Linked DNA regions of Homo sapiens: region 2 is linked to region 1. The links are contacts of gene promoters, found by promoter capture Hi-C in human tissues and cell types (Jung and others, 2019). All regions are on one chromosome and are shown on one strand. The core of a region is centred on a gene start or on the middle of the fragment in contact, and the rest is flanking DNA. Distances in the headings are between cores, read along the strand shown.

Region 1 (6,706 bases), core at 783-3,282:
CTTGAATCCATTCCCTTTTCATTGGTAACGCCAAAGTTCAGGGCCTCATAGTCTCTCCACAGTTGTGACTGTAATAGACATTTTCCTCTTCTTTAACTCAGTGGTTGTCAATAAAAAGATAATTTGCACAACCCAGCCCTCCCCCGCCCAAGCCTATTCGTTCCCATTTATTCAACAAGAATTTACTGTGTGTCTGCCTACCCACTGCTTTCTAGATATCAGCGTTAATGCAGTGAACAAAAGACAACAATCTCTGCCCTCATACTGCCTCTACCGTAGTCAGGGGATACAGACAACAAACAAAAGTAACGAATACAATACATAGTCTCTCCCATGATGATAGGGTGCTGTAGAGAAGAATGAAGCAGGAAGGAGGAATTGGGACAGTTAGAACTGTAAGTAAAGAGATCAAGGAAGGCCTCATTCAAACAGTGACATTTAAGCAAAGACCTGAAGTAGATGAGGGAGGAAATTCGGGGGATTGAGGGACGGCGGGGAGGGGCGCATTAAAGGCAAAGAGATTATATAACGTACTGTACCTAAAATATACAAATGCTAGTTACTATTTCTGGTTTTAAAGAGAATGATGAGATCACCTTAGAAAATGGAGCCTTAAAAAACTGCTTCAAAGGCGGGGCTCGGTGGCTCACGCCTGTAATTCCAGCACTTTGGGAGGCCGAGGCAGGTGGATCACCTGAAGTCAGGAGTTCGAAACCAGCCCGACCAACATGGTGAAACCCCATCTCTACTAAAAATACAAAAATATTAGCTGGGTGTGGTGGCGAGCGCCTATAATTCCAGCTACTTGGGAGGCTGAACCTGGAGAATCGCTTGAACCCGGGAGGCAGAGGTTGCAGTGAGACGAGATGGCGCATTTGCACTCCAGCCTGTGCGACAAGATTGAAACTCCGTCTCAAAACAAAACAAAAACTGCCTCAAAGCCGGGCGCTGTGGCTCAAGCCTGTAATCCCAACACTTTGGGAGGCCGAGGCGGGTGGATCGCTCGTACCCGGGAGTTCGAGACCAGCCTGGGCAACACGGTGAAACCTCATCTCTACAAAAACTACAAAAATCAGCCAGGCTTCGTGGCGCGAGCCTGTAGCTCGCTACTTTTGAGGCTGAGGTCGGAGGATCGCTTGATCCCGGGAGGTCGAGGCTGCGGTGAGCCGAGCTCGTGCCCCTGCACTCCAGCCTGGGCGACTGGGCGAGATGCCGTCTCAAAATACCCATAAAAACAAAAACAAAAACAAAATACTGCCTCAAATACAAGCACTAAGAATTAATGAAAGTATTCTTTTGGTACAGTTCTTTTTGTTCATCAACTGAATCACGCTGCAAGCTGTGAAGTAATTAAGGGAACTTCTGCAACTGTGCAGTAAAAGGGTAAACCTGATAGTGTATTTAAGTAGACGTACTTTCTGGTAGTTAATTACTTCTTGACACTAGGGGGCCACTAAATACAAGTCCACTCAGCATTTGATTCGGTGCACCAAAATGCCTCAGAAATTTCTGGAATCAGTCCTGTACCTCCAAAAAACCAGAATGTTATCTTCTTCTTTTCTAACAGCTGCAAAGCCCCAGTAGTTCCATTTTTCTGTACACTAAGTTTTCATTCCTCAGTATCCTTCACAATCATGCACACATTACACAGAGTGACCGGAACAAAGATGAGTCGACTTCGCCGAATGATAGAGAAAAACTTCCATACTGAGCGAACACCGAGGGGAGTCCGGAGGCCCTGTTGTCCTCTTCCGTGGCTGGCTGTGTCCGTCGCAGCCTGAAAGGTCAGCGGTACCCAGCGCTGTGACAGGGTCACAGGCGCGCGATGTCTCACAGCTCGGAGCAGTACTCACCTGGCATTAGGCCGCGTGCCGCAGGCCAGCTCTCACCGCTGGGCTCTTGAAGCAGGAGGCGCGAGCCGCGCCAAAGTCTGCAACGGCCTCAAGTCTCGACGCCAGCCTAGGCAAAAGGCAATGTATCTAAACGAAAAGAAAATAGGCTTTCTCCGCTCTACCGCCTCGGGCAGCCACACCTCCACACTTCCGGCGGTGTACCGGCCAAATGCCGCCTGCCAGCAACTTCCGTCCTCCTAGCTAAAAGCGGAAAACAGAGGCTCGGAACCGCTGCGTGGTTCTTGCTCTTCACTCGGCCGTTTTAAAGGGTGACTCTTTCCTGTCCCGGCCTGCGTGGTGTGGGCTTGTGGGTCTTTGAGACCCGAAAATTGAGAGCGTTTTCGCACTCCAGCGGCTGCTCCTGGCGGCTCTGCGGCCGTCACCATGGTAAGGAGGATGCCTCGGACGCTCGCGACACACAGCGTCTGAGTTAGTGGGACCTGAGGACTCTGGGGCGCTGGGGTAGGGGGTGAGCGGTGGTAGGCGGAAATGAGAACTGCCAAGAGAAAAGGATGGTAGACCCGTGGGGTGGGCTCTGAGGAGTGGAAACAACTTCACATTCGAGACACAGACGGTATTTGCCAGAACACAAGCTTTGGAGCAAGATTTTACTCTGTCCTGTTTTCTTTTTTCTTTTTGATCCACCGCTAAGAGTCCTAAAAATTCCTGATTTCACCACAAGCGTGGTTATCAGCCCCAGAGCCTAATGGGAATATGGTTGTCCCTTGTACAGTCTTAGATGTCAGTCCCGCCCCCTTCATTTTACTGCTGAGGAAACTGAAGGCGTCCTTGCCAAAGACCAGACAGCTAATGAATTGCGAAGCCGGGCTTAACGGCCCAGATCTAACTGCCAGGTCCTTTCTCTTTGTGTTACGTCTCTATAATCTGCGTTTCTTTGCAAAATGGCATTCCATACACCCTTCATGTGATTGCTGCAAAGTTTATGTGATAGCAGTTGGTAGCAGCACACCTTGTTGGTTGTTACTTAACATTGCTCTCTGTGCTGGACTTGGCTTTGTATCATTTTTATTTTTGCAGCCTTAAAATACGAATAGACTCACGCCTGGCCGCGTGTTTAAAACGTGTCTAAAATGCAAAAAGCATCCCATACATTGCTGGTGAAAAGAAAAATAATGCACTTTTGGAAAACGGTCTGGCAGTAAACACACGTCCACATGAAGACTTGCATGCAGTTGTTTATTGCAGATTTATTCGTAATCACCCAAAACTGGGAACAACCCTGATACCTATCATCTGGTCAGCGGGTAAACAGTGGTGTATCCATACAATAGCATACTACTCAACAATAAAAAGGATTGAAGTTCCTATACCTGCAGCAAATTGGGTGAATCCCAAAAGCAAGAAACCAGATTCAAAAGGCTATGTACTACTGTTGATCCCTGTTTCATTCTGGGAAAGGCAAAACTGTAGGGATAGGTATCAAACTGAGGGTTGGGAAAGAGGATTGACTTAAAAGTTACATAGGGAATTTTAGGGGGAAATGGAAATTCTTTGTATTTTGATTGTGGTGGTTACAGAACTGTGTAGTTAGGAAAAACTTAGAACTGTATACCTAAAAAGGACAGGTTTTACTGTGTGTAAATTATGCTTCAATAAAACTGACTTAAATTTTTTAAATGTGAAATGAAGGTGTTATTAAAAAAGCAAATTATGTCAAGGAAAAAAGATACTGTAATCAGTTCATCCCTTTTGTGGTCCAGTAGATTTTGGACCATTCCCTAATGAGATTATTAGAGATGTAAGCCCTGATGCCTCATATCATTCAAGACCAAAATTTAACTTACATCATGTGAATAAACTTAATGGTGCAAGAATCATTTAAGTAAGTGAACATTTGGATGAAACAGGGTCTTTGTGCTGTGTAAAAGAAAGCATTTTAGAATAATTGTCAGTACTTTAAAAAATTAAAATAATATTTCTTCCATCATTATAGCCACAGAATGAATATATTGAATTACACCGTAAACGCTATGGATACCGTTTGGATTACCATGAGAAAAAGAGAAAGAAGGAAAGTCGAGAGGCTCATGAACGTTCAAAGAAGGCAAAGAAAATGATTGGTCTGAAGGCTAAGCTTTACCATAAACAGCGTCATGCTGAGAAAATACAAATGAAAAAGACGTAAGTGGTCTCATTTATTTGTCATAACAAGTTAACATCTTTTGAGTAATCATTATTAAAACAGATAATCTTGAATCTTTTTTCCTTCTTGGTAGTATCAAGATGCATGAAAAGAGAAACACCAAACAAAAGAATGATGAAAAGACACCACAGGGAGCAGTACCTGCCTATCTGCTGGACAGAGAGGGACAATCTCGAGCTAAAGTACTTTCCAATATGATTAAACAGAAAAGAAAAGAGAAGGCGGTAAGCAATAACAATTGAAGTCTTTGTTTTGTTTAGGAGAATTACTTAAATTCAAATTTGAGGTTCTTGTTTCTCGGTTTAATTTCAAACATGAAGTACAGCTATTATTCCCATTATTTAGATGTTGAAGTCTTTGTAAATTTAATAAAAAACTTGCTTTCTCATCATAAGGTTTTAAAATTTAAGTTATAAAAAAAATTTATTAGAATGCCATATGAAATTAAAAAGCTGGTAAGGAGTGAATTTCAAATTCAATATTTGTCTTCCTGTTTGAAAACCCACAGTGCTATGCAGTCATAAAGAAAAATACAAATGCTTCTTATTTGTGCTGCCCTGTAGTGCCAAACTTGGTTAAAAAGTAGAATGGTGGAAAACTCCCTGAGTTGTCACAAAAAATGTGGCTTTTTAAAACACCTGTAAATAGATTAGCAGAAATCCAGATAAAAGAATATGCAGTATTTATATTTAAAGAATTATTTTTACTGCCTTACACTATTTCAGTTTTTTCATAGAATTTGCACTCAAGGGAGGCATAAAACATCTGGTGAGGATTTTGTCTTGCTAGTGATCTACAGATCCATCTCGGGAAGAAATACAGAGACATATTAAGAGGTGGAAACACTCTTCCAGTATTATGCTATTAAACATTAGTAAACACATATACTGCTTATAGAAGTCACTATCGGCTGGGCACCGTGACTCACGCCTGTAATCCCAGCACTTTGGGAAGCCAAGGCAGGTGGATCACCTGAGGTCAGGAGTTCAAGACCAGCCTGACCAATGTGGTGAAACCCCACCTCTACTAAAAATACAAAAATTAGCTGGGTGTGGTGGTGTGTGTCTGTAGTCCCAGCTACTCGGGAGGCTAAGACAGGAGAATTGCTTGTACCCAGGAGGCGGAGGCTGCACAGTGAGCCAAGATTGTACCACTGCACTCCAGCCTGAGCAACAGAGCGAGACTCCATCTAAAAAAAAAAAAAAAAAAAACCACCACATTACAGGTGGTATTTTCTCACCCATAACACAGCATTAAGATTTTTAGCTTAAGCCAACCATTTATTTAACATACCCATGATATATAAACTTGTTCTGTTTAATTTGCAGCTTATGAGACAATACAGACCTCTAGAAGACGGTTGAGCCAAAAATGTGTTGATGGTCAAGCAAAAAAAATAGATCTATTACTTTGTACAACTAAAACATATTTGACTTATTCTCATTGTCCTTTAATAACAATATAAACTTTTAACTGTGGCATATTTTTAGGGAAAATGGGAAGTCCCTCTGCCTAAAGTACGTGCCCAGGGAGAAACAGAAGTATTAAAAGTTATTCGAACAGGAAAGAGAAAGAAGAAGGCATGGAAGAGAATGGTTACTAAAGTGTGCTTTGTTGGAGATGGCTTTACAAGAAAACCACCTAAATATGAAAGATTCATCAGGCCAATGGTAAGTCCTTGGAAGAGTGTAATGACCGAAATGTTAGTTGACTTTATTAAATCGGATAAAGAACATTATCATTTCCTGAAATTCTTTAAATTGATGTGGAACAGGTTGAAAGATATTTTTATGCAATTTTTGTTATTTTATTGACAGAAGTTATTTAGTACTTTTTCCACTAGTCAAAAATCTTTAGCCCAGTGCGGTGGCTCACACCTGTAATCCCAGCACTTTGGGAGGTTGAGGTGGGTGGATCACCTGAAGTTAGGAGTTCAAGACCAGCCTGGCCAATGTAGTGAAACCCTATCTGTACTAAAAAATACAAAAAATAAGCTGGGCGTGGTGGCGGGCGCCTGTAATCCCAGCTACTAGGGAGGCTGAGGCAGGAGAATCGCTTGAACCTGGGAGGCGGAGGTTGCAGTGAGCTGAGATCACGCCATTGCACTCCAGCCTGGGCAAGAAGAGCAAAAATCCGTCTCAAAAAAAAAAAAAATCTTTTCAGCTTCGTGAGAGATTTGAAAAAGTAGTATCATAAGACATTGTCAGTGAATTCTGACTTTTAAACATGACATATTAGAATCTTCATTTTCCACAGTCATATTTTCCTCATTAAACTAGTGATCTACAATATGCCTGATATTGTCTAGGTCTCAAAACACTTCTTGTCTTTGACAGCAGTTCGAAAACTTGAGTAGGACTGTTTTATAAGAGTCAATTCCAGTTTGATAAGGAAAGTATCTAAATGCTTTTGAAAATCATTGAAAAGCCGGGCGCGGTGGCTCACGCCTGTAATCCCAGCACTTTGGGAGGCCGATGCAGGCAGATCACGAGGTCAGGTGATCAAGACCATCCTGGCTAACACTGTGAAACCCCATCTCTACTAAAAAAAAAAAATACAAGAAATTAGCCGGGCATGGTGGCGGGCGCCTGTAGTCCCAGCTGCCTGGGAGGCTGAGGCAGGAGAATGGCGTGAATCTGGGAGGCAGAGC
Region 2 (7,006 bases), core at 986-3,485, 1.2 Mb before region 1:
CCTATGAAAGCTAATATGTGTTACTAAGTGAAAAGAAGCAAGATGTGGAACAGCCTACATGGTATGATTATCTTTTTGTTATTTTAAAAGTACAAGTACGTGGTTATTGTATGCTGGTGTAGACATGATAACTTTTTTTTTCTGGTAGAAATCACAGTAAACTCAATAGCTGAAGAGACAGAGTGGGGTGTGGCTTTCTAACCATATGTTTATTTCAGTGGCAACAAGAATAGTCTGGGTGATGAGATATGTACCTTTTTTGCTTTCTTTGTAATTTTATGTTAAATACAACTTAAGAAATGTTACTAAGAACAAAGAGAAACGGTCTGTAAGAAATTATGTAATGCATAAATAGGTCTTACCAGTGGTAACTCTGTTAACACACTATTATTTTTTATTAAGACCCCTGTTCAGATTAAGGAATTTGGTGCAGTTTCAAAAGTAGACTTTTCTCCTCAGCCTCCATATAATTATGCTGTCACAGCTTCCTCAAGAGTAAGTATAATATTAAATTTCTTTATTTTTCTTTTGTATAGTTTACTACTGATCTTGAGCCATCTGGTGAAATACTGTTTTTCATCTTGTAGATTCACATTTATGGCCGATACTCCCAAGAACCTATAAAAACCTTTTCTCGATTTAAAGACACAGCATACTGTGCTACTTTTCGACAAGATGGTAGATTGCTTGTGGCTGGCAGTGAAGATGGTGGAGTTCAACTTTTTGATATAAGTGGGAGGGCTCCCCTCAGGCAGTTTGAAGGCCATACAAAGTAAGAGACAGTTGGTTTCTGTGTGTTCTGGTTTTATTTTGTTGTAAGCTCTTTTTTTCTCTGGACTTTGGTTAAAAAGATAGAGATCAGTTTTATGGAGATTATTTGCCTATAGGTACTATATTTCCTGATTGTTCTAAGAGTGCTTAACTTGGGTTCCGTGGTCCAGTTTCATGGGGCTTATGAATTCCCTAGAATTGTATGTGATATTTTAGGAAATACACGTTTATCTAGGGAGCTACTCTGTAGCTTTTGGTTAACTTTAGTGGGGTCTGTGGCCCAGCTGAGATTATGAATTACTGACCTGAAGACAACCTTACAGCTGGTAATGACAGCTCTATAGGCCTGTACTGTCTTAGAGGCTCTTATGTTGAAGTCAAGTAGGAAGGTGGATTTTCTTCTTGAATTTATAGTGTTTTGCCCCTTAATAAATTAAGTGGCCATCACAATTTTATATTATAACTTTGTTTTCAGGATTGCCAATGTCCGTGCTGAAATTTGTTAAAATTTAACAGAAATTTATGTAACATGATTCTATTTAGTGGTAAATCTCTTTAGAGTTTTTTAAAGAACTTTTTGAAATTTTAAAAATTAAAGTGCCTTTGCTTCCATATTCAGCAGCTAAGTGGAATTGTTTATATACTAGAAAATATAATTTTAAGGCTATCCTTTAATTTTTTTTAACTTTACAATATAGGAGTATTTACACTTCTTAATTGGTTTGGGGGCAAACACTTGTAAGTTTTCTCTTTCTTTCATGATTTCCCCCTATGAAGACTCCCTGAAACTCAGCTGCTTTTTTTTTAATCTGAGAAAAAGGAGCATTTTATGTTAGAAGGTATCAGAAAAATAATTTTCTTGCTTTTTAATATACTGACCTTCAATCTTTCAGAGCAGTTCATACAGTAGATTTTACAGCTGACAAATATCACGTGGTCTCTGGGGCTGATGATTATACAGTTAAATTATGGGATATTCCAAACTCCAAAGAAATTTTGACATTTAAAGAACACTCTGATTATGTGAGGTGTGGATGTGCTAGCAAACTTAATCCGGATCTCTTTATAACAGGTTGGTGAACTCTATTCCCTCCTGAAGCAAATAATCTCACGGGGATGTACTTTAATGTTGCTATGGGACTCTTTTGGGATGGAGGGGTTTAAATTTTTTTTATAAAGGAATATGTTTCTGATTAATTCTTCAGTTTTTAAATTAATTTTTATGTATGTATGTTTGCATTTATTTTCAGACAGGGTCTCACTCTGTTGCCCAGGCTGGAGTGCAGTGATGTGACCATAGCTCACTGCATCTGCTACCTCCTGGGCTCAAGTGATCCTCCCACATAAGCCTCCCAAGTAGCTGGGACTACAGGTGCCCACCACCACGTCCAGCTACTTTGTGTATTTTTTTGTAGAGACGGTTTTGCCATGTTGCCCAGGCTGGTCTCGAACTCCTGGGCTCAAGTGATCCACCTACCTCAATTTCCTCCCGGAGGACTGGGATTACAAGTGTGAGCCACCATGCCTGGCTTCCAATTGTTTTTTATTTTCTTATTCTTCTTTTGTTGATTGTTCATGTCTTCCAAATGTGTTTGGAAAAATCAGGCTGTCTTGAAAACATAATAGACTCTCAGAACTGTAATGTATAGTACCCTGCCTCAAGCAGCCAAGAAACAAAGAGTGCAGTTTAGCCTTTGTGGGTGCCTTTACAAAGATTTCCAGATGATTCAGTAGTGACAGTAGTCCAAAGAAAGAAATATTTTAAGATCAGAGCAAGTTAGATTCTGTATAGTATTATGTAGTGCTTCTTCAGACACGATCAGTAGTAGATGGTTTGGAGGTCCTGTGTCTTCATGAATATACATATATGTCTTTTTAAAACTCCATCTAAGCTTTTTTTCCTTTTAAAATTTATATCTGGATACACACAGTTTTTGTTGTTTTAAACAGTCAAACTAAAAATTCAAAAATTGACATTTTAGGATCATATGATCATACTGTGAAGATGTTTGATGCACGAACGAGTGAGAGTGTTCTCTCCGTTGAGCATGGGCAGCCAGTGGAGAGTGTCCTACTTTTCCCCTCTGGAGGTCTTCTGGTGTCAGCAGGTACTTCTTAAAAATAGCTTTCACCAATATTGTTGGTTTTGAATCACGTTTGTTTAAAATCAGTTGCTCTTTGTAATTTATCAGTGTGCATTTGAATTGCATATCTAAGTCTTTGTTCAAACAGTTGATAGGTAGGACTGGCAAGCAGTTATCATTTATTGTGTACCTAATGTGAGCCAGGCACTGTGCTGTTACATATGAACTCTAATGCCCTAGATGATGCTACAAGGTAGTTAGCTTTTTCCCTACTTTACAGCAATGAAATAAAAGTTTTAACTTATTTTTCAAGGCAAAGTGGTAAGTGGCAGATCTGAAATCACAGAACTCGAGAGCTCTGTGTATTTAGCCCTGTGCCATCTTATTTATTTAGCCCTGTGCCATCTTATTTAACCCCAGAAATTTAGCCCTGTGCCATCTTATTTAACCCCAGAAATTTAGCTCTTATGTATTTAGCCCTGTGCCATCTTATTTAACCCCAGAAATTTAGCTCATACTCCTTTTACTCCTACCTAAGAGATCTGCAGCAGCTTTTGAAAATCAGTTATTTGAGATCTAGTAGGCTTGTCTCTTTTTCTGTGACTCTCTTGATTGAAATGCCACTACCCAGCAAATAGCTGCTAGTACTAGAGAAAGGAGATAATGTGGCCTCAAAAGGGGCCTTGGTACATTTTTCAACAAGTTGGGACTGAGATGTTTTTCTCATTTTGCACATATTGCATTTTCATAATTACAGTGGAAGAAGTAAATTGGCTTTTTTCATTTGTAAATAAAGTAAAAATGTGTTCATATTAGAAGAATGTATAGGTAGTATGTATACTTGACAACATATATATTGCTGTGTGTACCTCCTTTTTTTTTTTTTCTTAATTCTAAAATCTGGCTAGAAATTACTCTGTTTTATATTCTTTTCCCCAGTACCTATTTGATTTAAAAATAAGTTGAGGCGGGATGTGGTTGCTCACGCCTGTAATCCTAGCACTTTGGGAGGCTGAGGCAGGCGGATAGCTTGAGTCCAGGAGTTTGAGACCAGCCTGGGCAACATAGCAAGACTCTAAGACTCCATCTTTAATTAAAAAAAGAAAAAAGTTGATAATGTCAGATGTGTCTACTTTTCTTGCTGTTATTCTGACAAATGGAAAAAATATCATGTTGAACAGGGAGAATAGAAAGCTGTGTGCTGATCTCCACTGTGTGTCACTAGCTAATTGTGACCTCGGGCAATCCCTTAAGGTCTCTAGACCTTGAAAATGAGAGGGTTGGACTAGATCAGTGATTTCAACTGTGATCCCTCTTGTGAGGTGCCACATAGGAGTGGAGAGGTGGGAACTGTGAGTTGGGTTCCAACTCCTGTTCCCCAGTCAAGATTTCAGTCTCCCCTTCCATCCCTTTTTCTGTCTTTCCATATTAGACTTTTTTGCTTGATATTTTGCTGCAGATCTACATTATTCACTTCCACTGCTATATAGAATTTCTTTTAAAAAATGATTTTATTATAATTTTCTTAAAATGGACTCTTTCAGTTATACATTTATTTTGCTGGAATTTATGTACACTTCACAAATATTATTTAATGGTCATAACAGTTCTGTGAGGTAGGAACTGTTATTACCAATGACCCAGGAAGTGGTGCATCCAGGATTTTACCAGGCAGCCTGGCCTGGACTCCCTCACTCAGCCTCCATGCTTTGTGGAGTGTCCAGAGAAGAATGCTTTTCAGATCTTTAATATGTTGAATCTGTGGGCAGAATATCCAACTAACGATGATTTCTTTTTATAGGAGGTCGTTATGTTAAAGTCTGGGACATGTTAAAAGGAGGACAATTGCTAGTATCTTTGAAAAATCATCACAAAACCGTGACATGTTTATGTCTAAGCAGCTCTGGACAGAGGTTACTCTCTGGCTCACTGGATAGGTTGGCATTTTAATTTTTTTGTATATTATTATTAGTGTACACCTGTTTACTGCTTGAGGAAATGAGTTATTTCAGCAATATTTGTGATAAGTATACAGATAATGATTTCCAGGAGAAAAAAACCTGTTGAGTTGAAAATAGTTTTGACCTTTTGTTTACATATAGCTACTTCTTTTCTTTTCTTTTTTTTTGAGACAGAGTCTCACTCTGTCACCTAGGCTGGAGTGCAGTGGTGCAATCTCGGCTCGCTGCAACCTCCGCCTCCCAGGTTCAAGTGGTTCTCCTGCCTCAGCCTCCTGAGTAGCTGGGATAACAGGCACGCGCCACAATGCCCGGCTAAGTTTTTTATTTTTAGTAGAGACGGAGTTTCACCATGTTGGTCAGGCAGGTCTTGAACTCCTGACCTCGTGATCCGCCCACCTCAGCCTCCCAAAGTGCTGGGATTACAGGCGTGAGCCACCACACCCGGCCACCCATAGCTACTTATTTTCTCCTTTGACACAATTTGTTTTAACTTGTATACTTAAACAACATTATTGAACCATTTGAATGATAATCTTTCAAATAATGTTATTCTATAAACCATCTTTTAAAATCATTATTGTACATTCATATATTTTGAAGTTTTTTTTTTTTTTTTTGAGACAGAGTCTTGTTCTGTTGCCCAGGCTGGTGTGCAGTGGCACAATCTGGGCTTACTGCAACCTCTGTCTCCCAGGTTCAAGCGATTCTCGTGACCCAGCCTCCCAAGTAGCTGGGATTACAGGTGTGCAGCACCATGCCTGGCTAATTTTTGTATTTTTAGTAGAGACGGGGTTTCGCCATATTGCCCAGACTGGTCTCGAACTTCTGGCCTCGTGTGGTCTGCCCACCACGCCCTCCCAAAGTGCTGGGATTACAGGTGTGAGCCACTGTGCCTGGCCTGAAAAGTTTTTTAAAAATTAGATAAATTAATTTTTTTTTTTTTTTTGAGATGACATCTCGCTCTGTTGCCCAGGCTGGAGTGCAGTGGTGGGATCTCAGCTCACTGCAACCTCTGCTTCCCGGGTTCAAGCGATTCTGCCTCAGCTTCCTGAGTGGCTGGGATTATAGGCGCTTGCCACCTTGCCCGGCTAATTTTTGTATTTTTAGTAGAGACAGAGTTTCGCCGTGATGGCCAGGCTGGTCTGGAACTTCTGACTTCAGGTGATCCACTCACCTTGGCCTCCCAAAGTGCTGGGATTACAGGCATGAGCCACCACGCCTGACCTAAAAGTTAGATAGCACATTTTATTTAGCCTAATATCTAATGTAAAAATAAAATATATATTACATATAAAATATAATTTCAGTATGTAATCTATGTCAAAATTATTAAGATACTAGAAATAAATTAAGCATCTAAACATGTGCACTATGATACAATAATCATATTTTAGGTTGGTACAGTGGCTTACACCTGTAATCCCAGTGCTTTGGGAGGCTGAGGTGGGAGGATCACTTGAGGCCAGGAGTTTGAGACCAGCCTAGGGAATATAGTGAGACCCCATCTCTACAAAAAATTAAAAAAATTAGCTGGCCACAGTGGTACACACCTTTAATCATAGCTACTAGGGAGGCTGAGGCAGGAGAAGCACTTAAGCCGGAGTTTGAGGTTGCAGTGAGCTGTGATAGTACCACTGTACTCTATCCTGGGTTACAGTGATACCCTGTCTCTAAAAAAAAAAAGATAATATTTTATAAAAATTACTGTCTCAGTTTTTAAATTAAAATTAGATAAAATAAAAAATTTAGTTTCTCATTTTCACTAGCCACATTTCAAGTGGTCAGTAGCCATGTGCAGCTAGAAGTATGGCACAGTTCTAGAATTTACATGATTTATTATTAATTTTTTTTTTTTTTGAGACAGGGTTTTGCTCTGTCGCCCAGGCTGGAGGGCAGTGGCATGATCTTGGCTGACTGCAACCTCCACCTCCTGGCTTCGAGCGATCCCCTCGCCTCAGCTTCCTCAGTAGCTGGGACCACCGGCACGCGCCACTGTACCTGACTCATTTTTGTATTTTTGTTGAGATGGGGTTTTGCCATGTTGCCGAGGCTGGTCTCAAACTCCTGAGTTCAACAGATCCTCCCACCTCAGCCTCCCAAAGTGCTGGATTACTGGCGTGAGCCACCGTGCCCGGCTTACATGATCTATTTTTTATTATTTTATTTCCATATTTTCATTTTTTTCTGCTC

What was found. Contacts are between HindIII fragments. The study calls those that stand out against the background at their distance.
Region 2: a fragment that was not itself captured here is called in contact with the fragment with the promoter of GFM2 in region 1 in 2 of the 25 tissues and cell types used here (hippocampus and spleen).

What each region holds. Positions count from the first base shown.
Region 1 is chr5:74,765,085-74,771,790 of GRCh38, forward strand. It overlaps GFM2 (GTP dependent ribosome recycling factor mitochondrial 2), which reads right to left and starts at 2,033. Exons shown (of 21, transcript NM_032380.5): 1 at 1,854-2,033. NSA2 (NSA2 ribosome biogenesis factor) reads left to right here and starts at 2,165. Exons shown (of 6, transcript NM_014886.6): 1 at 2,165-2,279; 2 at 3,847-4,034; 3 at 4,130-4,280; 4 at 5,547-5,726. The coding sequence starts at 2,277. RefSeq lists an enhancer at 1,746-2,185. The HindIII fragment of the contact is 4,613 bases long and covers 1-3,236 here.
Region 2 is chr5:73,567,833-73,574,838 of GRCh38, forward strand. UTP15 (UTP15 small subunit processome component) reads left to right here. Exons shown (of 13, transcript NM_032175.4): 3 at 403-495; 4 at 588-772; 5 at 1,665-1,843; 6 at 2,754-2,879; 7 at 4,657-4,792. Among named protein-coding and RNA genes, the nearest start is that of UTP15, 5.6 kb to the left of the region's middle. The HindIII fragment of the contact is 7,294 bases long and covers 1-5,882 here.